Linked DNA regions of Homo sapiens: all the other regions are linked to region 7. Evidence: promoter capture Hi-C in 16 types of primary human blood cells and fetal thymus (Javierre and others, 2016). All regions are on one chromosome and are shown on one strand. Each heading gives the region's core, a stretch centred on a gene start or on the middle of the fragment in contact. The rest is flanking DNA. Distances are from core to core; before and after follow the strand shown.

The links. Contacts are between HindIII fragments. The CHiCAGO score rates a contact against its expected background, and 5 or more counts as called.
Region 1: a contact is called between a fragment that was not itself captured here and the fragment with the promoter of COXFA4L3 in region 7, in 3 of 17 cell types (M2 macrophages, M0 macrophages and monocytes). The highest score is 10.8, in M2 macrophages.
Region 2: the fragment with the promoter of SHF here is called in contact with the fragment with the promoter of COXFA4L3 in region 7 in 11 of 17 cell types (M2 macrophages, erythroblasts, M1 macrophages and 8 more); the score reaches 9.3 in M2 macrophages.
Region 3: a fragment that was not itself captured here is called in contact with the fragment with the promoter of COXFA4L3 in region 7 in 4 of 17 cell types (M0 macrophages, M2 macrophages, monocytes and 1 more); the score reaches 13.6 in M0 macrophages.
Region 4: a fragment that was not itself captured here is called in contact with the fragment with the promoter of COXFA4L3 in region 7 in 15 of 17 cell types (M2 macrophages, M0 macrophages, monocytes and 12 more); the score reaches 29.2 in M2 macrophages.
Region 5: a contact is called between a fragment that was not itself captured here and the fragment with the promoter of COXFA4L3 in region 7, in 2 of 17 cell types (monocytes and total B cells). The highest score is 7.3, in monocytes.
Region 6: a contact is called between a fragment that was not itself captured here and the fragment with the promoter of COXFA4L3 in region 7, in 15 of 17 cell types (M2 macrophages, total CD8 T cells, fetal thymus and 12 more). The highest score is 11.3, in M2 macrophages.

Annotation. Positions count from the first base shown.
Region 1 is chr15:45,663,991-45,667,729 of GRCh38, forward strand. The region is part of intron 3 of SQOR (sulfide quinone oxidoreductase); the gene reads left to right. Among named protein-coding and RNA genes, the nearest start is that of SQOR, 31 kb to the left of the region's middle. The HindIII fragment of the contact is 4,176 bases long and covers 1-3,519 here.
Region 2 is chr15:45,186,582-45,190,049 of GRCh38, forward strand. SHF (Src homology 2 domain containing F) reads right to left here and starts at 1,385. Exons shown (of 7, transcript NM_001394037.1): 1 at 873-1,385. The coding sequence starts at 1,370. It overlaps LOC124903481 (a long non-coding RNA gene), which reads left to right. Exons shown (of 2, transcript XR_007064608.1): 2 at 1,534-2,237. RefSeq lists an enhancer at 1-365 and a silencer at 1,280-1,329. The HindIII fragment of the contact is 22,026 bases long and covers 1-3,468 here.
Region 3 is chr15:45,680,083-45,683,810 of GRCh38, forward strand. SQOR (sulfide quinone oxidoreductase) reads left to right here. Exons shown (of 10, transcript NM_021199.4): 7 at 2,396-2,579. Among named protein-coding and RNA genes, the nearest start is that of SQOR, 47 kb to the left of the region's middle. The HindIII fragment of the contact is 1,307 bases long and covers 1,346-2,652 here.
Region 4 is chr15:45,645,358-45,649,361 of GRCh38, forward strand. The region is part of intron 1 of SQOR (sulfide quinone oxidoreductase); the gene reads left to right. Among named protein-coding and RNA genes, the nearest start is that of SQOR, 12 kb to the left of the region's middle. The HindIII fragment of the contact is 4,297 bases long and covers 1-3,399 here.
Region 5 is chr15:45,282,267-45,286,030 of GRCh38, forward strand. No RefSeq gene overlaps it. Among named protein-coding and RNA genes, the nearest start is that of SLC28A2-AS1, 4.9 kb to the left of the region's middle. The HindIII fragment of the contact is 3,162 bases long and covers 246-3,407 here.
Region 6 is chr15:45,205,850-45,209,381 of GRCh38, forward strand. No RefSeq gene overlaps it. Among named protein-coding and RNA genes, the nearest start is that of TRH-GTG1-9, 6.5 kb to the left of the region's middle. The HindIII fragment of the contact is 2,735 bases long and covers 105-2,839 here.
Region 7 is chr15:45,428,058-45,432,002 of GRCh38, forward strand. COXFA4L3 (cytochrome c oxidase associated subunit FA4L3) reads left to right here and starts at 2,553. Exons shown (of 5, transcript NM_197955.3): 1 at 2,553-2,598; 2 at 2,713-2,775; 3 at 2,944-3,029. The coding sequence starts at 2,740. RefSeq lists a silencer at 2,496-2,575. The HindIII fragment of the contact is 4,531 bases long and covers 1-3,336 here.

The DNA.
Region 1 (3,739 bases), core at 182-2,681, 230 kb after region 7:
AACATAGACATGATAAGTAAATTATATAGTATGTTAGAATGTGATGGTTATTCATGAAAAAAAATAGAGCTGATTTGGAGCTAATTGGTATTGGGGCACATGGAGGTGGGGGATTGAATTTAAAATAGGTTGGTATTTACATAGTCCATGGCCAAGGAGTTCTCTGATAAGTTAACTCTTCATCTTTTTAGACACGTGGGTTATATGAAAGTTCTGTCTTCACTGAGCCAGAATCCACCTTCCTGTAACTTTTTTTGTATTCTTTCTTGGACACCCAGGATGTTATTGTTTTTAATACACTTAATACCTTTCTTAATACTTTTATTCCTTGTTTTGTCCTGTTGTGTATGAGAGAAGAATGTCTTCTCTCTTTTCTGTGGAGAAACCCTTCAGCTATTTGAAGATGGCTCTTATGTTTTATGTAAATTTTCTCTAGGTATATGTGTCCCCCCCATCCTCATGTCCCTCAATTCTTCCTCACATTTCATGGTTTCCAGTCCCCCCAGCCCCCTCTTTATTCTGCTTTAAACACCATCTGGCTTGTTAGTGCCCCATGAAAGAGGTGCCTGGAAAGAAGGCAACTTTACAGAACAGCCCAGAATAGCGTGGAGCCATTCTCTCCCATGATCTCATGCTGCATAAGTTAGCATTTGCCTTTTTCGTGACAGTTACCACGGTGCTGATTCATGCTGGGCTTGAGGTCGGTGCAAATTGCTGGGCCCTTTTCACATGACCCACGATCAAGTCAGGCTTCCCCCATCCTGAAAAAGTATAGTTGTTATTGATTTTACCTAAAGGCAGAAATGAATATATATAAGCAAATACCTATATGCATATATATTTATTTTAATTAAAATTTTTATATATGGCTTTTGTCCTGTTACTAGTTCAGAACTTTCTTATTTTTCTCAATGTCTCCGGGAGACCAGACTGAATTACACTCAAGATTGTTCTCAATCACAAGGTTGAGCTTGGTGGCTCTCTTACCTTGCCAGTCTCCTGAACACAGGGCCAGGAGACCTCTCTCATATCACACACAGCATCTCTTTGGTACAGCAGGGCCTGCCTCATTGTTTGGACCCCTTCAAGCTACAGGAAGAGCTTTAGAGCCTTCGGTGGTTGGGTTCATGCTCATCTCAAGGACCATATACTTTACTCATCTCTTGGGAATGACAGGCACTACTAGGTGTTCTCACTGCTGAGTCCTACCTATTACTCCTAAGGTTAGACACTTAGGAAAGCTGTAGTGTCTTGTTTTAGGGCAGAGAAGTTGGTGCAATGTAGTGGGACTTTCTTCCAAGATTTTATGAAGCAAAACGACTTCATAGCCAGATATCAGAAATACACATGACATCTCATGTGAGAAATCATCCTGCTGGTTTTAATTCATCCTCCCAACACATCTGGGTCTTTTGGATTTATGACTCTGTCAATCCATTAGCAATTTTTCTATCTGTTATTCACAGGTGGTTTCATATAAGTTCAAAGTTTTAACTCTGTAACATGTCACTAGAGAGCTTTTTTAGATTGCACAAAATTAGTCAACATTTCTTTAGCAAATATTATTCAAGTGACCAAATCATTCCATTCTGTCTTTTTTTTTTTTTTTTGGAGACAGAGTCTCACTCTTTTGTCCAGGCTGGAGTGCAGTGGTGTGATCTTGGCTCACTGCAACCTCTGCCTCCCAGGTTCAAGTGATTCTCCTGCCTCAGCCTCCCGAGTAGCTGGGATTACAGGCATGTGCCACCACGCCCAGCTAATTTTTGTGTTTTTAGTAGAGACAGGGTTTTGCCATGTTGGCCAGGCTGGTCTCAAACTCCTGACGTCAGATGATCTGCCCACCTCGGCCTCCCAAAGTGTTGGGATTACAGGTGTGAGCCACCGTGCCCAGCCCATTCCATTCTTAGTTTACACTTTCCCACCTTATTGGTGAAAGACTGAGCTGAAGGCACTGTTGAAACCCAGACTCAGTGTGTCTCTGATTCTTCCCTGATCCGGGGGTGTGTTTGTCTGAAACACATCTCAAGGCCCTGTGTAGACTGGTCCTTGCTCCTTCTCCAGGCTTAACCTGGTTCTATTCTCTCCTTGTTCCTGCTCCTGCCATACTGGCCTCCTATTTCCTCAAATGCCTCAGCCTTTTTCTTACCCCAGGACATTTGCACATGCTGCTTCCACCTCTATCCCTAGCTAACTGCTACTCATCTTTAGCTTCGATATGACTCCTTCAGGCAAGCCTTCCTTGACTTCCCAGACTAGGTCAGGTTATCCCTTGATGTGCTATCACAGCATTCTGTGATTTAGTAATTATTTGTGTCATTATCTGGTAATGCCTATCTCACTCACTAGATGGAGTTCCTGAAGGGCAGGAAGTGTATCTTTCTTGTCCATTGTTTTATGCCCAGGACCTAGCACAATATCTGGCACATAGAAGGTGCTCAGTAAATATTTGTGAGCAAATTGTGTCTGTTTCTTCATTTGTAAAATAATAATAATAATAGTACCTAGATACCTTATGAAGTTGTTGTGAGTGTTAAATGAATGAAACCATATGAAGCACTTAGAACAGCACCTTGCACAGAGTAAATGCTCAATAAATGTTGCTGTTATTTTTAAAAGAATACATAAAAAGGAAAAGGATATATTTATTGAGTATCTACTATATGCCAGCAGTTCTTGATTGCTGATTGAAAGCAGCAGGCTTATCATCTGTGAACCTATGTTGGTGCTCCTTTTCCTCTCCCCTCCCCTTCCCTCCTCTCCTCTCTCCTCCCCTCCCCTTCTCTTCCCTCCCCTCCCCTTCTCTCCCCTCCCCTCCTCTCCTCTCCCCTCCCCTCCTCTCCTCTCCCCTCCCCTCCCCTCCTCTCCTCTCCCCTCCCCTCCCCTCCCCTCCTTTCTCCTCCTCTCCCCTCCCCTCTCCTTTCCTTTCTCCCATCCCCTCCCCTCTCCTCTCCTTTCTCCCATCCCCTCCCCTCTCCTCTCCTTTCTCCCCTCTCCTCCCCTCTCTTTCTTCCTTCTCCTTCCCCCTCCCTCCCTCCCTCCCTTCCTTCCTTCCTTCCTTTCTTCCTTCCTTCCTCTCTCCCTCCCTTCCTTCCTTCCTCCCTTCCTCTCTTTGTCTCCTTCCTCCCTCCCCTCCCCTTCCCTCCTCTCCCCTCCCCTCCCCTCCTCTCCCTTCAGCCTTGCTCTGTTGCCCAGGCTGGAGTGCAGTGGTGAGATCACAGCTCACTGCTCCTTGAACTCTTGGGCTCAAGAGTTCTGAGCCGATCTACCTTAGCCTCCTGAGTAGCTGGGACTACAGGCACACACTACCATGCCCAGCTAATCTTTTAAAAAATTACTATGAAATGTCTATTTAGTAGTTGAGTCTAGAGTTTTGCAAAGGATTAATAGCCTATTTACTAAGATGTTCGTGTCAGAGTTTACGTCTTCTGACCCCTGTGTAATATGAGAATACTTGCAGATATTCAGCCTTCTGGCAAGGTCTACACTGTTGTGCGTAACTGCTCAAAAGTCTTGTCTATAAGCTTTTGCTGTTCCTGGGGGTTTAGGTCATCTGACCTGAAAACTTGAACTCATTCAAAAGGCTTGAGGTTTTCTTCTTGCTTTCTTGCTATGGAGGGTTTATTCTCTCTTAATGATTTTTTCCCCATAATCTTAAGCTGGCATGTTTTTAGTCCTTAGACATAATGAATATTATGCTCTAATAAAATAGAGCATAATCAATATTATTTGCATCATGTTT
Region 2 (3,468 bases), core at 135-2,634, 240 kb before region 7:
CAGGGCCCTGAGGCATGGTGGATTTCCTGTTCTCCTCCCTATCCTGGTGCCTGCAGACCCAGGAAAAGCTCCAGCCTCCCTCAGAATGGACCAGGGGGAGAGGGAGGCCAGGAGGAGAGGAGGAATGGGCTCAGCTGCTTAGCCCCATGTGGGCAACAGGTCCTGAGCACTGACTATCCTCATACCTGAGAGGACGAGGGAAGGAGGGAGGAGTGGGCCTGGACCCCACGAAGCCCCCTTGGCAAGAGCTGTAAGCTGCCTGTCTTCGCCTCCTGAGAACAACAGCCTATAGGGCAAAGGCCAGCTCGTGCTGTGTCCGCAAGGAGAAACCCGTCTTCACCTCCTTTCTGGGGCTTCAGCACCTGCAAGGATGCTTAGGCTGGAGAAACAGGAGGAGGAAGAGGAGGAGGAAGCAAAGAGGCAACAGGAGGGAAGAGCTTTGTGCTGGCTATGCCCAGGGGGAAGGGTCAGAGATCAAAGGGCACTGAGCCGCTGCTTCCAGAGGGGCAGAAAGGCCATCAACCAGTGGGGGTTGGGAGGTGCGCCTCAATTCCCGTTAGCAAAAGGCTCATGGATCAGGCTAGAGGGGGCTACGAAGTGGAGAGCCAGCCCGGGAGGGGGAGGGTCACCAGTTCTGGGGCCATTACAAAGGATAGGGCAGAGGGGCAGAGTTTGGGGCTTCCGTCTCAGATTAGTCGGTTGAGAATCTGAACAAAGGTGGGTGAAGGCTCGGAACCCCGGGGTCAGGGGCTCGCGTCTGCCAGAAGCTGAGACACCGAGGGGCCCGGGCCAGGCCACCTTTGTCCCTCTCGCAGCCTCCAGACCCCTGACCGCCTTCCCTCCTGGCCATCCCGGCCCGGCGCGGCACTCACCCTATCGCTGCTGGCGGGGGGTCCGGAGATCCGCTCATCAGCAGGCGGCGCCGGGGGCCCCGGGGTCTCGACCCGAATAAGGCGGTGTGGGGGAGAGCCGTGGCGCGGGGGCGGCGTGGGTCCGGGGGCGACAGGGGTGGCGAGGGCGGCGGAGCCGGACGACCCCCCGGAGTAGGGGTCTTCGAAGTCGCGCTCCCGCTGCAGCCTGTAGGCGGCCAGGATGTCCGGGGGCGGCGCGGGGGGCGCGGCCGGAGAGGGCGCAGGGGGGCGGTAGTCGGGCTCGGGGGGCGCCGGCTTGCTGCCCCCTCCGCCGCCGCCCCCCCCGCGGAAGCCCAGGTGCTCCCGGAGCCACTTGGCTACTCCGCCGCTGCCGCCCCCTCCTGGGCCGGCTCCCGCACCCCCGGCGCCCCGGCGGGACCCCCCCGGGCCGCCCCCAGCGCTCCCCTGCGTTCGCGGCCCCGGGCGGGAGCCAGCCGGAGGAGCTCCGCTCAGTAACATGGGGCCAGCCAGACTGAGCGAGGGGAGCGCAGCGGCGGGTGGGGGGCGGGGGCGGGGGTGGGGAGGGGGGCGGGGCTCCGCCGGGCGGGGAGGGGGCGGGGCGCTTCAGTAACAAGGGAGAGGCGGGGCTCCGCTCCCTAACAGGGTCTTCCTCCTCCCGTAGCTCGGAAGAGTGTACGCGGGCTTCCAGCCGGTATGCACAGGCAAGAAGTGAAGTGGGCAGCCCTGGGGCAGAGGATGCGACTACTGGACTGAGGTTGAATCCTTTACGTGTCGCCACGCGGTCCCCTGTGGGGAGCGCATCCATCCCCATCTGTTCTTTTCCCCAGCTCCCAGCTCGTGCGAGACGCAAAGAGGGGAGCCCCCAGACTCCTGACTCTAGGGAGCCTTACGCCTCTCCTCTTCCCTCTCCCAGGATCTCGCAACTGGGAAACTATAATCTAGGAGGAAAATCTAGGCGGGCAAGAAAAGGGGCTAGGTTCTGTAAGATGTGTCTGTAAGCCTCCTCCTCCCGTGCTACCTTGGGAGCCCCACAACCTCCTCCCATCCAACCGTACGCACTGCACATACCCGAACCTACGTTACTTCCCGATCCAGGCAAACACATCTCACATCACATACAAACAACTCCCTAGAGACGCCCACTTCTCCCGTGTCGTTTTCACACACGCCCTTCTCACACGCAAACAGCCCTCGCTCAAACATCCCCCACCCACGGGAGCACCTGCTCCAAACGGGCCCACATGGCCCTGACGATAGCATGCGCACGCACGCAGAAATCCCTTCCAGCCACATCCCGGGCTTCATTGTCAATCAGATTAGTAACAGAATGGAAACAGACAAGTCAATAAATCAAGTCTAGAAACAGTCCCAGTGTTGTCTATCACAAACTCCTTATCCTCTTGAGGCTCAGATGCTCAAGTGCTAGGCATTTTTGTCTTAGAAATAAAGCCAGTTCCGGCTGGGCGCGGTGGCTCACGCCTGTAATCCCAGCACTTTGGGAGGCCGAAACGGGAGGATCACGAGGTCAGGAGATCGAGACCATCCTGGCTAACACGGTGAAACCCCGTCTCTACCAAAAATACAAAAAAATTAGTCGGGTGTGGTGGCGGGCACCTGTAGTCCCAGCTACTCGGGAGGCTGAGGCAGGAGAATCGCTTGAACCCAGGAGGCAGAGGTTGCATTGAGCTGAGATTGCGCGACTGCACTCCAGCCAGGGCGACAGAGTGAGACTCCGTCTCAAAAAAAAAAAAAAAAGAAAAAGAAAAAAGAAAAGGAAAGAAATAAAGCCAGTTCCTCACCATAAATGTAGGCCTGAAGCCAACACCAACACATTTGCTCTTGGCTCTGCTGGGAAAGCAGCTGTCTCACCTCACTTTACCCCACCCCCTTTCCCCCACTGCCTCAGTGTCTCCGCACTCCTAGGTTCATGTCTGCCTTTTTTTTTTTTTTTTTTTTTTTGAGACGGAGTCTCACTCCGTCGCTGGAGTACAGTGGCACGATTTCAGCTTACAGCAACCTCCACCTCCCGGGTTCAAGCAATGCTCCCAGCTCAGCCTCCCTAGTAGCTGGGATTACAAGCGTGCGCCACCACACCTGGTTAATTTTTTGTATTTTTAGTAGAGATGGAGTTTCACCGTGTTGGCTAGGCTGGTCTCGAACTCCTGACCTCAAGTGATTCCCCACCTCGGCCTTCCAAAATGCTGGGATTACAGGTGTGAGCCAACGGCACCTGGCCATATCTGCCTTTTGAGGGCGCAAAAAGCCAAGAGGCCCCAAAGGAAAGGAGTTCAAAGCGGGGGGTGTAAAGAAGGATGTAATGGCAAAACTGTGAATCTCCTGGGATTCCCAGGGCCCCGAGTCTCAAAATATTTGTTGAGTTCCTGCTTTGTGCAAATTCTAGTTGGGCGAGGTGGCTCATGCTTGTAGTCCCAGGTACCTGGGAGGTTGAGGTGGGAGAATTGCTTGAGCCCAGAAGTTCAAGGCTGCAGCGAGCTATGATTGTGCCACTGGTCAGACAGTGCTGCTTGTATTTAGGACAGTGCTTCTGATCAAGCCAGTGCTGCTTGTATTTAGGACAGTGCTTCTCAAACTTTAA
Region 3 (3,728 bases), core at 749-3,248, 250 kb after region 7:
TTTTCTTTCTTTCTTTTTTTTTGTAGACAGGGTCTCACTCTGTTACCTAGGTTGGAGTGCAGTGGTACAACCGTGGCTCATGGCTCACTGCAGCCTCTACTTCCCAGGCTCAGGCAATCCTCCTACCTCAGCCTCCTGAGTAGCTGGGTCTATAGGCATGCACTACCATGCCCGGGTAATTTTTGTATTTTTTTAAAGACTGGGTTTTGCTGTGTTGCTCAGGCTGGCCTCAAACTCCTGGGCTCAAGTGATCTGCCCACCTTGGCCTCCCAAAGTGTTGGGATTACAGGTGTGAGCCACCACACCTGGCCCAATGTTAATTTCTTTTTATTTCTTTTTTTCTTTTGGAGGCAGGATCTTGCTCTGTCACCCAGGCTGGAGTGCAGTGGTGCCATCTTGGCTCACTGCAACCCCCACCTCCCAGCCTCAAGCAAGCCATCCTCCTACCTCAATCTCCTGAGGAGCTGGGACAACAGGCATGTGCTACTATGCCTAGATAATTTTTTGTGTTTTTGGTAGAGAGGGGTTTGACTACGTTACCCAGGCTGGTCTCGAACTCCTGAGCTCAAGCGATCTGCCCACCTTGGCCCCCCAAAGTGTTGGGATTACAGGCATGAGCCACTGCACCTGGCCATTAATTTCTAATAAATCCATAAAGTAGACCCTTTTGTAGGATGTTAGCTCAGGTAAAACTCCATACCTTTATGATGATTATATGAAAGTATTTAGCTTTTCTTTTAGAAAAGAGTTGTGGAATTTGTGTGTACTTGTGAAATTCAAACACATTAACTCCACCGAGATGACTCTAGTAAGGTTTAGACCTCAGTTCAAAAACGTAGTTCTAGGTCAGGTATGGTAGCTTGCACCTGTAATCCCAGCACTTTGGGAGGCTGAGACAGGTGGATTGCTTGAGCCCAGGAGTTCGAGACCAGCCTGGGCAACAGAGCAAGACCGAGTCTCTAATAAAAGAAAAAACAACAACAACAAACTAGCTGGGTGTGGTGGTGCGTGCCTCCTGGCTGAGGCAGGAGGATTGCTTGAGCCCAGGGGTTCGAGGCTGTAGTGAGCTATGATCAAGCCACTGTCCTCCAGTCTGGCAACAGAGTGAAACACTGTCTCAAAAGTAGTTCTAGTTGACTGCAGAAATGCAGACAGGAGATTAATAATTTAGTAGATGATAGCTGTTGACCATTTCATCCATTATCCTGCAAACATGCATTCAGTTTCAACGTTCATGAACAGACCTGACCTCAGGGACCCATGTGCCCAAGAGCCACCCTCCACCCAAGGTTATCCTGCAGATGAGCAGCAGCCATTTGCAGTGCTCCTTCCCTGAGGTTAATTAAGCTTATATTTGTCTGAGAGTTGTAATAAGTACAAGTCATCTTCCTAATTCCCATTGCCATCAGTGACTGCTGAGCCTCTCGGAGGGCATGGGAACATTGGACTTCTTGTGGAAATGAAGGGCTATTGACTATCTCAAAAGGTTGGAATTGTCTTCAACTGCTTAAGTTTTTACCCTAATGACATGTCGTGAACATTTCAATCAATGTGTCCTTAACTGGACCCACTAGCAAATTGATGAATTTGCTGGAAGGAGTTTGTTAAAAATAAATAAAAAGAATAATAAGAACCAACTACAAAACGTGAAAGAATATTACATAAACAAAAAAATTAAATGAGCCCTCAAAAGTGATTAGGATGGGTCAGTGCACCACTACCAAAGGTAACCTTGATACGGTGTTTTGGAAAAAAATTCACCCCTGCCTTCTGCACTGAAAAGTAAATCCAGTACTGAATCAGACCCCTTGCTCCTTTTCCAAAGTGCTAGCTAATATTTTTACCACCCCTTTTCATCTTAAATTGGTGTTCTGACAGTTTCCTTTATGTGTTTTGAAGTTGACACATATTTGGGAATGATGCTTTCTTACCAGCTCCTAACATATCCTTTACAAGTTTAAGGGATGCTGAGCATCACCTTACAGAATAACGCTGAGGTGCTAAACTTTGCAAGTTGACAGCTGAGGGTCAGGGAGACTGCAACTGAAATATACCACCCCCTTATTTTAGTACTAATAAAAACATCAATGGATTTTTTCAGAATATTAGTGAGCTTTACTCCAATATCTCATGTACCCGTACGTGTGTCCACAGGGCTCTCTTGGTCTCTGTATGGGGAGATCACGTCAACTGAGAGAATGGTTATTTAGCTTATCACCATTCCCCAGGAGAACACATAAGATCTTGGAGAGGGCGTGGACTGGTACAAGTGCTGATTGTATAATGCTCCATGCAGCCATAGCACAGTGTATAGAGTAAGGAAGGTAGGGGGAGAGCTTGTGGAGCTGTAGAAATATTGAATAAATGAAAATGTGGATTCTCTCTTTGTGTGTAGTATGAAATGCTTCATGTCACACCTCCAATGAGCCCACCAGATGTCCTCAAGACCAGTCCTGTGGCTGATGCTGCTGGTTGGGTGGATGTGGATAAAGAAACTCTGCAACACAGGAGGTACCCAAATGTGTTTGGGATTGGGGACTGCACCAACCTTCCTACGTCAAAGACCGCTGCTGCAGTAGGTAAGTCAACCAGCTCCATTTCTCCCTTTCTCAAAAATATGTCACCTCAAGGCATGATTGTAACAAAAACACAAGCTTGGCATCGGCCAGAGACGGTGGTTCCTGCCTGTAATCCCAGCACTTTGGGAGACTCAGGCAGGCAGGTCATTTGAGGCCAGGAGTTTGAGACCAGCCTGGCCAACATGGTGAAACCCCGTCTCTACTAAAAATACAAAAATTAGTCAGGCGTGTGGTGGGCGCCTGCAATCCCAGCTACTCAGGAGGCTGAGGCAGAAGAATTGCTTGAACACGGGAGGTGGAGGTTGCAGTGAGCCAAGATCGCACCACTCCTTTCCAGCCTGGGTGACAGAGCAAGGCTTCATCTCAAAAAAAAAAAAAAAAGGCCTTCCTAAGACAGAAGCAAGTTGTCAATGAACCCAGTGTCATATACAGCAAAAAATACCTTTTGAGTGCTTTGCCCCAGAGTAGCATGATCTTATCTACCTTTTCTAGGTCAGAGGGGTTGTTGTCAGAAGAGGGGGCCTTAGAGTGCATCACTTTTCTAGCTCTCTTGAATTCTGTTACTTCTCATACTGCCATACTGGCATCCCTGGTATCTTTGCCTCTGACACCAGGCAGGTTGGCTATTTTTCTTCTGCCTGAAACACCATAAAGCTCGAGGAGCATTTGTTTTCCCAGAAAACACATGGAAGTCAATGAAAGCTTGCAGACCAGAAAATTGTCCTGTTAAGACAAATACAGTGGAGCATGCCCTGAGTGGTACACGATTAAGGCCTCAGCCTGGAAAACTAAATTCTTCACCTCGATGTTCTGCACCAGCAGTGATGGGGAGAATTGCCTTTTAGATTCTGTCCTCTACTGACAGGAACTGTCTTCTCTGGATGCTATAAAACACAAGACCTTCAGTATGGTCATGTTTTGTGTGAATTAGACACCTGTGGAACAGATTGTGTTACTTTTGCTGACTATTTCAACCTCAAGGTAGACCATCTAGGAAACTCACTGAGTGTCTTTTTCATTATTAATATTAATTTCCTTCCAACTTTTTATTTAAAAAAAAATCTCAAACCTATACAAATTTGAAATAAATTATAATACTCATATACCCTTCAGGTATTAACCAATTATTAATATTTTGTGACATTTGCT
Region 4 (4,004 bases), core at 1-2,500, 220 kb after region 7:
AATTTTATGTTCCAGTTTGACTGGACTATGGGGTGCCTAGAAATTTGGTCAAACGGTATTCTGGGTGTGCCTGTGAGGGGGTTTCTGGATGAGAGTAACATTTGAATGGGTAGATTGAGCAAAACAGATTGTCTTCCCCAATGTGGGTTGGCCTTACGCAATCAGCTGAAAGCCTCAGTAGAACAAAAAGGCGAACACTCCCGTGAATGAGAGACAATCAGCCCTGCCTGCCTGAGTGTCTTGGAGCTGGGATATCGGATGTTCTTCTGTGTTGAGAGTCAACTGAAACATGGCTTGTCCTGTGTCTTGAGCTGGCCTTGAGACTGAAACTGTACCATAGGCTCTCCCGGGTCTTCAGCCTGCTGACTACAGAATTGGGACTTAGCTTCTATAATCTTGTGAGCCAGTTTCCAGGAATGTCCTTCATGTAATAGGGAAATGATGATGTTTGCTTTGGTTGCCTCCCTCATTCCTTTCACCTCCTCCAGTTAAATCTTGTTTTGACCCTTTATTGGCTGTGGGTGCAGGGAGTTTTCCCATGTTCCAGGAGGCAGCCAGCTTGTAACTAGCAAGCATTGCTATGTTTGTATTTCTGATACATTTTCTAAAAGAGATCGCAGAACAAAGGGTCCTGACTCACCAAGGATACAGGTATTTGTTGTGATTTACTTTCTCATTCAAAATACATATTGGATATTGTATCTAATTTTGTATTGGTAATTTTGGGTTATGAAACCCCAGATTTGAAGCCCCAAATTGTATAGGGTTCAATGCCCATAAAACCCAGATCTGCCCCTGCTTAGAGGCCGGCCCCTCTAGGAGACAGCATGTGGGGCCACCCAGAGATGCAGGACTCTTCTGTTCTGCCCTATCGCAGCAGAGAGGCCATCCCTGGAGCTGGAAGGTGCAGACTGGGAATTGCTCCTTCTCTGAATTGCTAGCTCCTGCTAATGCCTGCATTGCTGCTGCAAAGGATATTCAGAAAAAGTTGCTCGTCAGAAAAAGAATTCATGCTAGCTCTGGCCCTGCTGCTGATGCATTGTGTGAAACCCTTGAGTGACTTCACCTCTTGGAACTCAGTTTTCCCATTTGTAAAGTGATATCAATACTTCCGGTGTGGGCTCAGGTTTGGGCCCTGTGAATTGTAAAGCTCTATGCACATGGGAGGATGTATGATTATAAGTTGTGTTGCTATTACTTGTATTGCTAATATCTTGCTATTATTGAAATATGCCCAAACCTTAACATTTCAGTGACTAAAGAGCAAAACCAGTGTTCACTCTGACATAGTTTTTTTAAATTTTTCATTCATTCACTCATTTTAAGTTTTTATTGTGTAAACTTTCATCAAACATGTACAAAAATAGACTGCCACAAGGAATGCCCATATATATCCATCCACTGATTTCAAATTATTGCCAACTCATGGCCCATTTTGTTTCATCTACACCCCTACCCACTTACACCTCCTAAAATATTTTCAAGCAAATTCCGAGTCATTTCAACTATAAGAATCTCGGTGTATATTTCTGAAAGATAAAGACTCCTAAAAAATTAAATCAGTACTATTATTGTACCTTGCCCTTCTCTGCCAAAAAAACTTAATTTCTTTCTTTTCAGTTTATTTAGTAAGCTAAAATTTAGTAACAGGGAGGCCGAGGCTGGTGGATCAACTGAGGTCAGGAGTTCGACACCAGCTTGGCCAACATGGTGAAACTCAGTCTCTATTAAAAATATATAAATTAGCTGGGTGTTGTGGTGGGCGCCTGTAATCCCAGCTACTCAGGAGGCTGAGACAGGAGAATCGCTTGAATCCGGGAGGAGGAGGTTGCAGTGAGCCGAGATCATGCCACCGCACTCCAGTCTGGGCAACAGAGTGAAACTCTGTTAGAAAAAAACAAAACAAAACAAAACATATATTCACTCTCACCTCCCACCTCACTCCATGGGATTCAACCAAGCTACTTTAACTTTTTTTTTTTTTTTTGAGACAGGGTCTTTGTCTGTGGCCCAGGCAGGAGTGCAGTGAGGCAGTCTCCACTCACTGCAACCTCCTCTTCCTGGGTTCAAGTGATTCTCCTGCCTCAGCCTCCCTAGTAGCTGGGATTATAGAAGCACACCACCACGCTTGGCTAAATTTTGTACTTTTAGTAGAGATGGGGTTTCGCCCTGTTGCCCAGGCTGGTCTCGAACTCCTGAGCTCAAGCAGTGCGCCCGCCTTGGCCTCCCAAAGTGCTGGGATTATTTTATTTTCATTCAAATTTAAAGTAGCTTGGGCCAGGCCCGGTGGCTCAGGCCGGTAAATCGCAGCACTTTGGGAGGCCAAGGCGGGTGGATCTCTTGAGGCCAGGAGTTTGAGACCAACCTGGCCAACATGGCAAAATCCCGCCTCTACTAAAAGTAGAAAAATTAGCTGGGCGTGGTTGTGGGTGCCTGTAATCCCAGCTACTCGGGAGACTTGAAGCACAAGAATCGCTTAAGCCCAGGAGGCGGAGGCTGCAGTGAGTGGAGATCATGCTGCTGCACTCCAGCCTGGGCGACAAGTGACAGAGCAAGACTGTCTCAAAAACAAAATAAAATAAAATAATTTCAGCCAACAGGCATTTTTCCTGAATTATTAGATAGTTTGAATTAAGTTCTGTTGCTTAGTCATGTGACCTTAGGCAAGTTCTCTATCTCTACTCAAACCCTCAATTTTATCATCTGTAAAATGGGGATTTTATTTATAAGGTTATGAGGAGTCTTTGAGACAGCACAAGTACAACTGGTAAACAATAAATGTTAGTTATTATTTCAATGATAGTTTTTTGTTTTTTTGTTTTTTTGTTTTTTTTTTGAGACGGAATCTTGCGCCACCGTCACCAGGCTGGAGTGCAGTGGCACGATCTTGGCTCACTGCAACCTCCGCCTTCTGGGTTCAAGCGATTCTCATGCTTCAGCCTTCCCAGTAGCTGGGATAACAGGCATGTGCCACCATACCCAGCTAATTTTTGTATTTTTAGGAGAGACGGGGTTTCACCATATTGGCCAGGATGGTCTCCATCTCCTGACCTCGTGATCCGCCCACCTTGGCCTCGCAAAGTGCTGGGATTACAGGCGTGAGCCACCACACCCAGCCAGAATAGATTATTTTCCTACCAAATCCTGTCTTCTGGATTTGAAATAAGAAAATATTTGGTTAAGAGGTGTAAATAACTGATAATAGCATTAGGGCTGACTTAATTAATTAAATACGCCCAGAAAGCCCAAGTGGGAGGATTTAGTTGAGGAGGAGGAGGAGTTTTCCAACAGTCCCTCCACCTGGGCACCAGGTGTAAGCCTGACCTGTGCCGTGTACACAGTGCTCATTCGTGCCCTGAGACAGGAAGCTACAGAGATCCAGACCAACAGCTCACAGTAAGCTTGGGCCAGGTCTGGCGGGAAGAACAGAGTAGGCAACAAGAGCTGGACACTGTTTAATGATTAGACTGTTTTCCTCTTTGATTTTGGAAGTGTTCTACAAAGGTGATCTGTTAAAGGTTGGCCCTGTGGTTATTGAAACCCAAAGCAGAGTGGGCCCAGCCTGGCCTAGGCTTGAGAGGAAACAATTGTAAATCAAAGACCCACTGTGTCCTCAAAAGCAAAAATAGCTGAAGGGTTGATGACAATCCTTGGCTTGGTGAATCTTTCATTAAGAATGCTCTGAGTAATTCTTGCTTAGCCAGCAGCTCTGTTTGAACTCTGCCAGGTGCCCTGGCTGCTCACAAACCATGTCATGTGACATAAGATTAGGAAGCTTTTGACACAGGCAGTCTGTATTGCTTGTCCAGGAAGGGCTGTAGTGGAAAGGTATGAAGTCCCAAAGACTTGTCCAGACCAGGTCTGGAACTAGGGGCCAGTGATGGAAGTAGGGGATGCCCAGTCCGCTGTCTTATCTTTCAATCAACAGGGACTTTACTTCTCCAGTTAGACTGCAGTCATATCAAAGCATTCATTCCCATCCTTTGAAGGAGGGACACAATCAA
Region 5 (3,764 bases), core at 577-3,076, 150 kb before region 7:
AAGAAGCCAGCATTGTTCACCCTTCCTCCCGTGAGAGGCAGTGGCTTCATATGTACTCCGTGGAGATGCCCTGGAAGGCCAGGCAAACATCTCTGTTCGCAGTGAAGCTATGGCCATCTTGGTAGCACATCTCTTTGTTTTTACATCTCCCCTACCTCACTTCTTTTTTCTCGTCATACTTTCTTCCCTGCAATTTCACCAATCAATAAAGCATCCATCACAAAAATGTGCATATTTTTGCTCTAAGCTTTTCTTGAGACTGTAGGCTCAAAAATGCTAGTACCAGGAGTAGTCTTTAAAAGCAGACCTTTAAAAGTGTGATTTTAGAGACTAGCCCACCTATCTAAAGGCAATCAGAACTGTTTCCCCAGTGGTAAACAGGATAGTATAACCCTGCCATGCAGGGGCATGCATGACAATTACTAAGGCTTTCACCTCCAGTTGACTGGGATGAGGTGCAGATAGAAGATAAGGAATTAGGATATTATGTGGCTGCTGTATTTGATCAGTATGGGAGCAATAATAACGGCACAGAGTGGAGAATAGACTGGCTGCTCTTGAGAGCATTGGAAGTCTTGGAAAAAGAAAATGATAGTTTAAAGCAGCATATTGCCAACTAAGTAACAATATGAAAGCCAGAGGAGTTCTGTGGCAGCCATAAAGGAGACTCATCTCTTGCAGCAGTAGGTTAGACACTGTTGAAAACAATGAGAACACTTGGACACAGGGTGGGGAACATCACACACCGGGGCCTGTAGTGGGGTTGGGGGAGGGGGGAGGGATAGCATTAGGAGATATACCTAATGTAAATGATGAGTTAATGGGTTCAGCACACCAACATGGCACATGTAAGCATATGTAACAAACCTGCACATTGTGCACATGTACCCTAGAACTTAAAGTATAATTTTAAAAAATTTAAAAAAATTAGGTTCAGGGCTGGGTGCAGTGGCTCACACCTGTAATCCCAGCACTTTGGGAGGTCGAGGTGGGTGGATCACCTGAGGTCAGGAGTTTAAGAGCAACCTGGCCAACATGGCAAAACCCTGTCTCTACTAAAAATACAAAACTAGCTGAACATGATGGTGCACACCTGTAATCCCAGCTGTTGGGGAGGCTGAGGCAGGAGAATCACCTGAACCGGGAGACAGAGATTGCAGTGAGCCAAGATTGTGCCATTGCACCCCAGCCTGGGCTACAGGAGGGAAACTCTGACTCAAAAAAAAAAACAATAAATAAAAAGAAAAGAAAAGAAATTAGGTTCAGGATCCAGAATGGCAAAGCTGCTAAAGGTATTGAATGCATAGCTTCAACAGCTTTCCCATGTGGAGGTATTTTCCAGAAAAGAAAAATGTGAGGCGTTAAGACCTGAATAAGAAATATGTGAGTGGCAGAGTGACCAGTGAACCCAAGGCATCAGCATCACCTGCTAGACATGCAGAGTCTCAGGCCTCGCCCCAGACCCACTGAATCAGAATATGCATGTTAACAAGATTCCCTGGCCGGGCACCGTGGCTCACGCCTGTAATCTCAGCACTTTGGGAGGCAGAGGCAGGAGGATTGCTTGAGCCTACAAGTTCAGGGCCAGCCTGGGCAACATAGTGGACCCCGTCTGTACAAAAAAATTAAAAAAAAAAATAGCCAGGTGTGGTCCCAGCTGCTTGGGAGGCTGAGGCAGGAGGATCGCTTGAAGCCGGGAGGTTGGGGCTGCAGTGAGCCATGATCATGCCACTGCATTCCAGCCTGGGTGACAGAGCAAGACGCTATCTCAAAAATAAATAAATAAATAAATAAAATATGTGAGTGGATGAGCCTCAAAATCTGGAGCTCCTAATTGTCCCTAAATCTTCCTGGCCAGCAGAAGCAGTCCCTTTTCTTTCTTATTTATTTATTTATAATGCTGTCAGCAAAACCCTTTTCTCTTGACTAAGGAAAACAGCCTCCCCTTGCCCATCCAAAATAGGTCATTGCAGAATAACTTTCGTTCTTCCCAAGATAAGCCTCCATTCTCTGCCTTTTTTGCCTCCAGTCTGGTAATCTGTGCCAGAGCTCAGCACAGCCTGAGCAGGGAAGTACAGGTCCTGCTCCAGAAGGAGTTAGCCTCCATTCCAAAGGAACTGTAGGACCTGGAGAATATGTAAGAACTGAGGACTAAACTCTAATTTTTTTATCTGCCCAAATTCCTACCTAAGGGGTCTAGGGAGTCATGTCCTACAAACCATAAATTCTCATCAGATGGGTTTTGTTTGACCCTATATATCGTGACTTACTTTTCAATCACTCTGGCATAACATTGAGACAAGGAAGAAATATTTAACCCCAAAATATATTTCCTTGCTATACCTTGAAATTGCCCTACAAAGTCTCTTGTGGGAAAAATACATATCCTGTAGAGAATCCCCTTCCCCCTTTGTTTTCTTTCCTTTCTTTCCAGATCCAGGAGATAATCAACTAAGAGCCAGACACCCTTTTAGGTCTGATAAGAAACATTTTATAACCTGCTCTCTCTCTGAAGTCTGCTATCTGCACAATAAAACTTGGTCTCTCCATAATCCTCTTTCTTAACCTGAACATTCCTTTCCATTAATCCCAGGTCTTCAGATAAACTCAACCAATTGTCAACCAGAAAATGTTTAAATCTACCTATACCCTGAAGCCCCCGGTTTGAGTTGTCCCACCATTCTGAACCAAACCAATGTATTTTATTTTATTTTCTTTCTTTCTTTTTTTTTTTTTTTTGAGATGGAGTTTTGCTCTGTCACCCAGGCTGGAGTGCAGTGGCGTGATCACAGCTCACTGCAGCCTCAGCCTCCTGGGTTCAAGCGATTCTCCTGCCTCAGCCTCCCAAGTAGCTGGGATTACAGGTGCACGCCACCAAGCCTGGCTAATTTTTGTATATTTAGTAGAGCTGGGGTTTTGCCATGTTGGTCAGGCTGGTCTCAAACTCCTGACCTCAGGTGTTCTGCCCGCCTCAGCCTCCCATAGTGTTGGGATTACAGGCATGAGCCACCATGCCCAGCCCAATATATTTCTTAAATGTATTTGATTGATGTATCATGCCCCCCTAAAAATATATAAAACCAAGCTGTACCCCAACCACCTTGGGTACGTGTTCTTAGGACCTCCTGAGGGCTGTGTCACAGGCCATGATCACTCATATTTGGCTCAGAATAAACCTCTTAAAATATTTTACAGAGTTTGACTCTTTGTCAACAGAATCAGGGTAATGTAGGTGGGAGTAGATCTTGAAAATGTAAGACTGGGGAGAGAGAGAGAGTGAGTGCATAAAATAAGGTTTTATAAGAGAGAATTCATTACCTGAGGGCATACATTCATGAGTGGTTATCCAGTGTTTTGGCAAGAGCACTTGAGGTCACTATAAATAGTTTGTTGTGCTGTTTCCTTGAAGCTTGGACACACCAGAAATAATCTTGGCATTGTACTGGAGAAGGGATCAAAAGTCATAGGAAAATGAGAACGTTAGAATATATTTACTATGTATTAAGACCTGCTAACCCGCCACCTGTCTATATACTCCAAGAGCCCAGGGAACTTCCTTATACTAAGGAATAAGAAATACATTGGTGAAAGGAGCCCTGTCAAGGCCAAGAGTGGGGGATACTGCCATGGAACACGGATCTCTAGTATCAAAAGGGTTGATGGAATTCCAGAATACCAGAAGCCAAATAACACTCAACTAACAGAGCAAAGGTAAATACAATTACCATAATGGGCAGCAATGCCAGTACGACAATCAAGGTGCC
Region 6 (3,532 bases), core at 222-2,721, 220 kb before region 7:
CTTGCAGAAGCAAAGGTCTAAATCAGTGGTTTCCAAACTTTTTAGAACTGATAAACTAGGACAAACTTTTCACCACTGAATGAAAAAATGAGGTCAATGTGGTAAGCTTTTAAAATGCTAAATGCATTTAATCCAAAGGACTGTCCTCTAGGCTGAGACAATGACCTTTTTATTTTTGAGGTATTAAAGTGACTTTTATAAAACTATGGAGAAAGTAGGTGATAGGTGTTTTTTTGTTTGTTTTTGTTTTTGTTTGTTTGTTTTTTAGACGGAGTCTTGCTCTTGGCTCACTGCAACCTCTGCCTCCCAGGTTCAAGCGATTCTCCTGCCTCAGCCTCCTGAGTAGCTGGGATTACAGGCATGTGCCGCCACACCCAGCTCATTTTTGTATTTTTAGTAGGGACGGGGTTTCACCTTGTTGGCCAGGTTAGTCTTGAACTCCTGACCTCAGGTAATCCACCTGCCTCGGCCTCCCAAAGTGTTGAGATTACAGGCATGAGCCACTGTACCCAGCCAGTGATAGGTTTTAAAAAACATCTTTTCTTGGAAACGTTTTAAATTGGCAATGTTGGTCTCCAAAATTAGTTTTGAGTTACTGGTCAGAAAAATCTGCAAATACAAAGCTCACTACAGAGTTCAGAGAGCCAAAGCATCAGGCTGAGCAGAAATGGTCCTGGGTGAGTAGGGGGTCTGAGGAGGCATGCTCAGAGGGAGATGTGTTCCTGTTCTGTTGGGCAATGGTCCATGCTGACACCTATCCTCCTGCCCAATAACCAGTAGTGCCTAGTATGATCTGTGCTAGGCCTTGGAGATATGAATTAAATAAGACCCATTCTTACTCTGAGATCATTTTAGTTCGGGGTTAATCAGATGAGTGAAGAACTAATTAGAACTATGCCAGACATATATACAAAGTGTGTTGGAGCTTAGATCGTTGATTCTACCAGGATACAACATTTGATCTGAGTTCCAAGGCATGCATAGTACTTTTCCTGGAAAAGAAAGGGAAAGGATATTCTACTTGGGAGGCTGAGGCAGGAGAATCACTTAAGGCTGAGAGGCGGAGGTTGTAGTGAGCCGAGATTGCTCCACTGCACTCCAGCCTGGGTGAGAGAATGAGACTCTGTCTCAAAAAAGATAAAAAGGAAAGGGTATTCTAGGCAAAGAGAAAGGCATAAGTAAAAGCAAGGAAGTATGATGCACAGATAGCATAGGAAAAGACAAGTTGTAGCTACAACATTAGATATGGAGGGGAGGGAGGCCGGGGAGGGCGGATCACTTGAGGCCAGGAGTTCGAGACTAGCCTGGCCAACATGGTGAAACCCCATCTCTACTAAAAATACAAAAATTAGATGGGTGCAATGGCACATGCCTGTAATTCCCCCTAAAACAAACAAACAAAGAAACAACAAAGATATGGAGGAGAGAGTGGAGGGTGAGAGGCTGGAGCCAAATTTTGATGAATCTCTTACTTGAGTCAGGCCTTTTTCCTGGAGGCTGGTGTTTCTTCACATTTTGTGGTAACATTGCTTTGGGGATCCATTGACAGCCACAGCCTTGTTCTCCAAAGTAATACACCTATGATAAAATATCAGGAATTCACAAATTTCCTGAAGGCTGTCCATAGGCTTTGTGTCAGGCATTGAGGGGAGAGGGGCATTTAAGTTCCCATTTTTAAGCAGAAGAGAGACATAGTCATATCTGTGTTTTAGAAAGGTTAGGTGTAAATGGATAATTATATCCTGATAAAAGTCTTCATTCAGGAGAGACAGAAGAGAATTTCTGCTCCCTGGACTAGTAGTTGATGTTGGAGCTCGGGGACTAATACTCATCTAGGGATGAACGAGGGACTCTTCCCTCAAATCACACCTATAGATGTTTTCTCTTTAGCATGGAGGTAGAGGGGATGAACATGTTGGATAAAAAAAAATGGATATGAGGCTTGAGTGTGTCATCCAGAAGATCACCAAGATGGCTAGATGGTAGAAAGGAGAGCTATATTGGTGATATCAGTTTGCAGCTGGGAAGAGAAAGTCTCCAACGTGGACCAATGGTGCTCTTTCTTCTTCTTCTTCTTTTTTTTTTTTTTTTTTTTTGAGACAGTATTTCATTCTGTCACCCAGGCTGGAGTGCAGTGGTGTGATCATAGCTCACTGCAGCCTTGAATTCCTGGTCTCAAGCCATCCTCCCATCACAGCCTCCCAAGTAGCTGGGACCACATGCACACACCACCACACTCAACTAATTTTTGTATTTTTTGTAGAGACAGGGTTTCACCATGTTGCCCAGTCTGGTCTTGAACTCCTGTGCTCAAGTGATCCACCCACCTCGGCCTCCCAGTGGGCTGGGATTACAGGTGTGAGCCACCTCACCTGGCCTGCTCTTTCTTCAAGGAGGGGAAGGACACGTTGGGTTTTATGCTTCACAGAGCTTGTGTCATACACATTCAGCAGATTTGGGGAAAAGCTATACATATTTATGAGGGAACTCTATGTATGGGCAATGGGTAAACATGTATGTAACATACATGCCACGTTCACTTTGGGGTAGGATTTTGGCATTGAAATGAGGTGGAATTGGCTCCACATCAAAAGATGAACTATAGGACACCAAGGCAATTTGTGCACAGCCTCTATAAGCTGTCTGAAACTGGCTTAAGGTCTGCAATAGCTTCTGAGAAAAGAATATTTGTAAGGCTGGTCCTCTGTCTAATCAGACTTGGGGTCTGGGTTGTAAATCAGAGCTCATAGCTCCTATTATTAGAGACCTTAGCCATAGGAATTTAGCAATTTGCTATGCCAGCCGGCACCTTGGACCCATAGGTAAGTTACTTTCCTTAAGCTTTGAGTCTGTCTTACTTGATAATGGTGCATCCATTTTGGTCTCTCAGATCAAAAGAGGAAGATCTAATATCAAGTGTATAATGTTTTCTAGAGTCAGGGTAGCCAAAACAGCATGAAAAGAGACGTATCCATGTTATACTGATATTGTTAGCATTGAGCATTTGACATGATGGTACAATGTGCAAATTTCAAATGTAATTTTAAGTTAAAAGGGAAAGATACATACAAAAATTGCAACAATCTGACTTGAATTTCTTTTATTTCCAAACTTTCTTCTAAATTTCAGTCATACTGGCCACGGTGTTTCATGCCTGTAATCCCAGCTGAGGCGGGTGGATCATAAGGTCAGGAGATCGAGACCATCCTGGCTAATGTGGTGAAACCCCATCTCTACTAAAAATACAAAAAAATTAGCCAGGCGTGGTGGCGGGCGCCTGTAGTCCCAGCTACTCGGGAGGCTGAGGCAGTAGAATGGTGTGAACCCGGGAGGCGGAGCTTGCAGTGAGCCGAGATCGTGCCACTGCACTCCAGCCTGGGTGACAGAGTGAGACTCTGTCTCAAAAAAAAAACCAAAAAACAAACAAACAAACCCCAAAAATTAGCCAGGTGTGGTGGTGCGCACCTGTAATCCCAGCTACTCGGGAAGCTGAGGCAGGAGAATCACTTGAACCCAGGGGGTGGAGGTTGCA
Region 7 (3,945 bases), core at 1,303-3,802:
CATTAGAGTTATTTAGAGTTACTAAATTGCAAGCACCTTGAAGTAAGTGATTTGTGTCTTACTACTCTTTTTAATTCTGCTATGCCCCCATCCTCAGAATAATGCCTAGACTACTAAAAAACTGCATTACATTTTGAAAAGAAATGATACTGGCAAAGCACGGCTCTGTGTTTAAGGTCATTAATAGGCAATGGCTACACATTTTTAATTTCAATTTTGGGCTCATGAAATACTAATGTAAAATTTATTTCTTCTTCTTCTCTCTCTCTTCGTCCTGTTTCTCTTTCTCTCTCCCTCCCTTCCTTCCATCCTAGAAAAACTTCTGTTTCTTAATAACATGAGGTTTTTTTGTAGAATCTTCTGACAGAAGTAGCCTTAGAAGTCTTTCATTAAAAGGCTTCTCTGATTCTAGGTAATACAAACCAAGGAGAATTAATGTTGAATTTTCTTTGAAGTATATAACGTAGATCCATCCAATTAGCAAATGTCTCTAGTTACAGTTCTGGGGTTAAACAGTAAGAACGCTTGCCAGAGTAAGGGAGTGGGAAACTACATTTATGATCAGCCTTACATAAAACAAATCTTTGAGGCTGGGCGTGGTGGTTCACACCCATAATCCCAGCACTTTAGGAGGCTGAGGGGGGCGGATCACCTGAGGTCAGGAGTTCAAAACTAGCCTGGCCAACGTTGCAAAACCTGTCTCTACTAAAAATACAAAAATTAGCGGGGCGTGGTGGCACATGCCTGTATTCCCAGATGCCCAGGAGACTGAGGCATGAGAGTCGCTTTAGCCCATGAAGCAGAGGTTGCAGTGAGCCGAGATCACACCACTGCACTCCAGCCAGGGTGACAGAGCGAGACTCTGGCTCAAAAAACAAAACAAACAAAAAACCAAATCTTTGCATATAGTAACTATTTGTTGAGTGCCTACTACAAGCAGGACAGAATGCTTTACATATATTCTAACATTTTTTCCAACTCTCTCCCCTGCCAGGTTTGCCCCCATTTTGCAGATATATAAACTGAAACTCATGAAGGTTAAGTAGTTTACTTAAAGTCAGCTATTAATAATAAGTATAGCAGGGGCAGGCTCTGAACTCAGGTCCATTTGACTACAAAACCCAGGTTTAGAATGAAAATGGGGTTGAAACACAGCAGGGTCTAGCCAATTTCAGGGAACGTTAAGATGTTGCCTTTTAACTTTAACTTACAGCTTGAACTTCAAACTGTTTGTTTTAAAATAACTGGTCCTTTACTTATTGCAGTATTTAACAGAGGGGTGCAGACAGAACCATGGTGTTGGGCACCAGACAGACCTGCGTTCTGATGGCATCGCCGCCACTTACCAGTGACGTGACCAGAGCCTCTCTGAGTCTTAATAAGACTTTGCACCCACCTTGCCGAGGGGAATCTGGCTCAGTGTCTGGCACACACACAGCCCCTGGCTCTGTGAAATTGTTACCATTGCAGCCGCCTGCAAACTGCAAAGTGAGGTTGCTGGCTTAGAGGAGAGTTAGGAGGGAACCCAAAGACTAAACCAGCCGGCAGGGTCGTTTGCAGAAAGACCTTCTCCTGACAGCCTCCCCAGCTTATTCTTTTGTTTGTTCTCCCTCGACCTCGGGTTTTTGTTTTATTGTGTTTATTTGTTTGTTTTTGTTTTTTTGGGTTTTTTTTTTAGCAGAAAAAGTCAGGACGCCCTGGGAGTTATTCTGAAATAAACTTTACAATTTAATTTTAATGATCTCCATAGGTGCACAGACCACATTTTGGAGCTTTTAATGTGATTGGATTAATTCTAATTTACCCGCCTGCACCTGGGAGCCTCTCCTGGGACCCTCCGGTCTGCAGCTCATTTTTCCGGACCCCCTTTTATTGTTTATTTGCTTATTTAAATATTTTGTTTTATTCTATTTTATTTAAAACAGGGTCTCGCTCTGTTGCCCAGGCTGGAATACAGTGGTGTAATCTTGGCTCACTGCGACCTCAAAGGCCTGGACTCAAGCGATTCTCCTGCCTCGCCCTCCTCAGTAGCTGGGACTGCAGGCATGCAGCACCACGCCCGCTAATTTTTTTTAGTAGAGACGTGGTTTCGTCACGTTGGCCAGGCTGGACTCGAGTGATCCTCCTGCCTCAGCCTCCCAAAGTGTTGGGATTACAGTCCTAAGCCACCGCGCCAGGCCCGGATACCCTTTTAGAAGGGTTGGCTTTCCCTCAGGCCTCGGCTATCTGCGCTCCCCTCTTAGGGGGTTCCACCTCCTACTCCCCAAACCTCCAAACTCCTCACAAGCACCTAGGGGGGCCAAGAGCGACCGGGGTCGGCAGGTAAGGAAGACCGCGGCGAGCGGCAGGGGGCGCCAGCGCCCGCGTTCGGGCGCTTCACGTCAGCCGCAGAATGTCCTGCAGGGGGCGCCCGGGAGTCGCGTGCCCAACGGGGAAAGCGAGTCAGGTCCCTCGCGCTCCCCGCCCCACGCGCGTGACCAGAGCGCGCTGGCCCGGCCCACCCGGGGCGGTTGTGGTCGCTATATATAAGGTGGGGAGGCCGCCGGCCCGTTCGGTTCCGGGCGTTACCATCGTCCGTGCGCACCGCCCGGCGTCCAGGTGAGTCTCCCATCTGCAGAGACGCGGACGCGCCGGCCCGCAGTTGGCCTGCGGAGCGCGGTGGACGGTTTGGCGCCCACCAGGCGATCAATACTTTGGATTTTTAATTTCTAGATTTGGCAATTCTTCGCTGAAGTCATCATGAGCTTTTTCCAACTCCTGATGAAAAGGAAGGAAGTAAGTTTTAAAAACAATTGAAAATCTTGACTAAAGTTTTCATTTTTAAAGATGAAAAGATGGCACAGATTTTGAACAAAGTATAAAATAAATACAGTTGTTTTGCTGTGTTTCAAATGTTTCATATTGAAGTGTCCAAATGTGTCCCCTCCACCTGTTATTTGTTAGCTCATTCCCTTGGTGGTGTTCATGACTGTGGCGGCGGGTGGAGCCTCATCTTTCGCTGTGTATTCTCTTTGGAAAACCGATGTGATGTAAGTAGGTCTCAATTTATAAAAACGTTTTTGGCAGTGTTTGGATGACTTTTAGTTTATGAAATGTATAAGTTTCCTATTTTTTTCCCATGGATGAGAATGCCAAATTGTGAACTGGGAGTCAGGGTTAAAAAGCATCTTTTATCAGAAAACTCTTATGATATTGTCTACCAATGGGTCAGAAAATGAAAATTAGAAAAAAAAAAGAAAAAATTTAAAAAAACCCATGATATTAATCAAATTAGTTTATTTCTTGTGTTTATTCTTTTACCCATTGGCCCTTCTCCACTCTCTGGCAGTGAAGTAAAGCTTGTTTTTTTTTTTTTAAGTTTTGAAATTTAAAGTTCTTCAGTGGTTTTGGGAGATATATATCATGAAACAATCATTTTAATTAAAATTTTAAATTTTAGCTTATTAGATTTTTACTAATGTGGTAGAATTGATAGATTCAGTTGTCTACGATGAACCTAATCTCAACTTTGGGTAGAAGAAAGTAAAAAACAAAAACATGTATCCTGGAATATGAGGAAAAGATAAACTTGAAACTGTTGGAGGCTGGTGCAGGGCTGGAGAGGGCAGTCCTCTAACCGCTGGCAGAGGAGCCTAGAGCCCTGGAGTTCACCACCTGCAGAGTTCAACCTGCCCCTCCCACAGACTGAGATAAGAACATTATTGCATGTCCTTGGCTTGGCAGTTTCACTCCCATGGTTATTTGGTTTGTGGGATCCTTCCCCAATGCAGCCCAATCAAGAGAATACAGACCTCCTACCCTTTAGGGGAACTGATGTTTAATGTTTGAGCCACACCATGAAACTCCCTTAGAGAATTTTCAATCAATTTTAGTTGCTACTGATGGTTCCTGATCATTAGCAGACACATGCCTTAGTATGAGACTGGTTTTGTCCCTAACATGTTT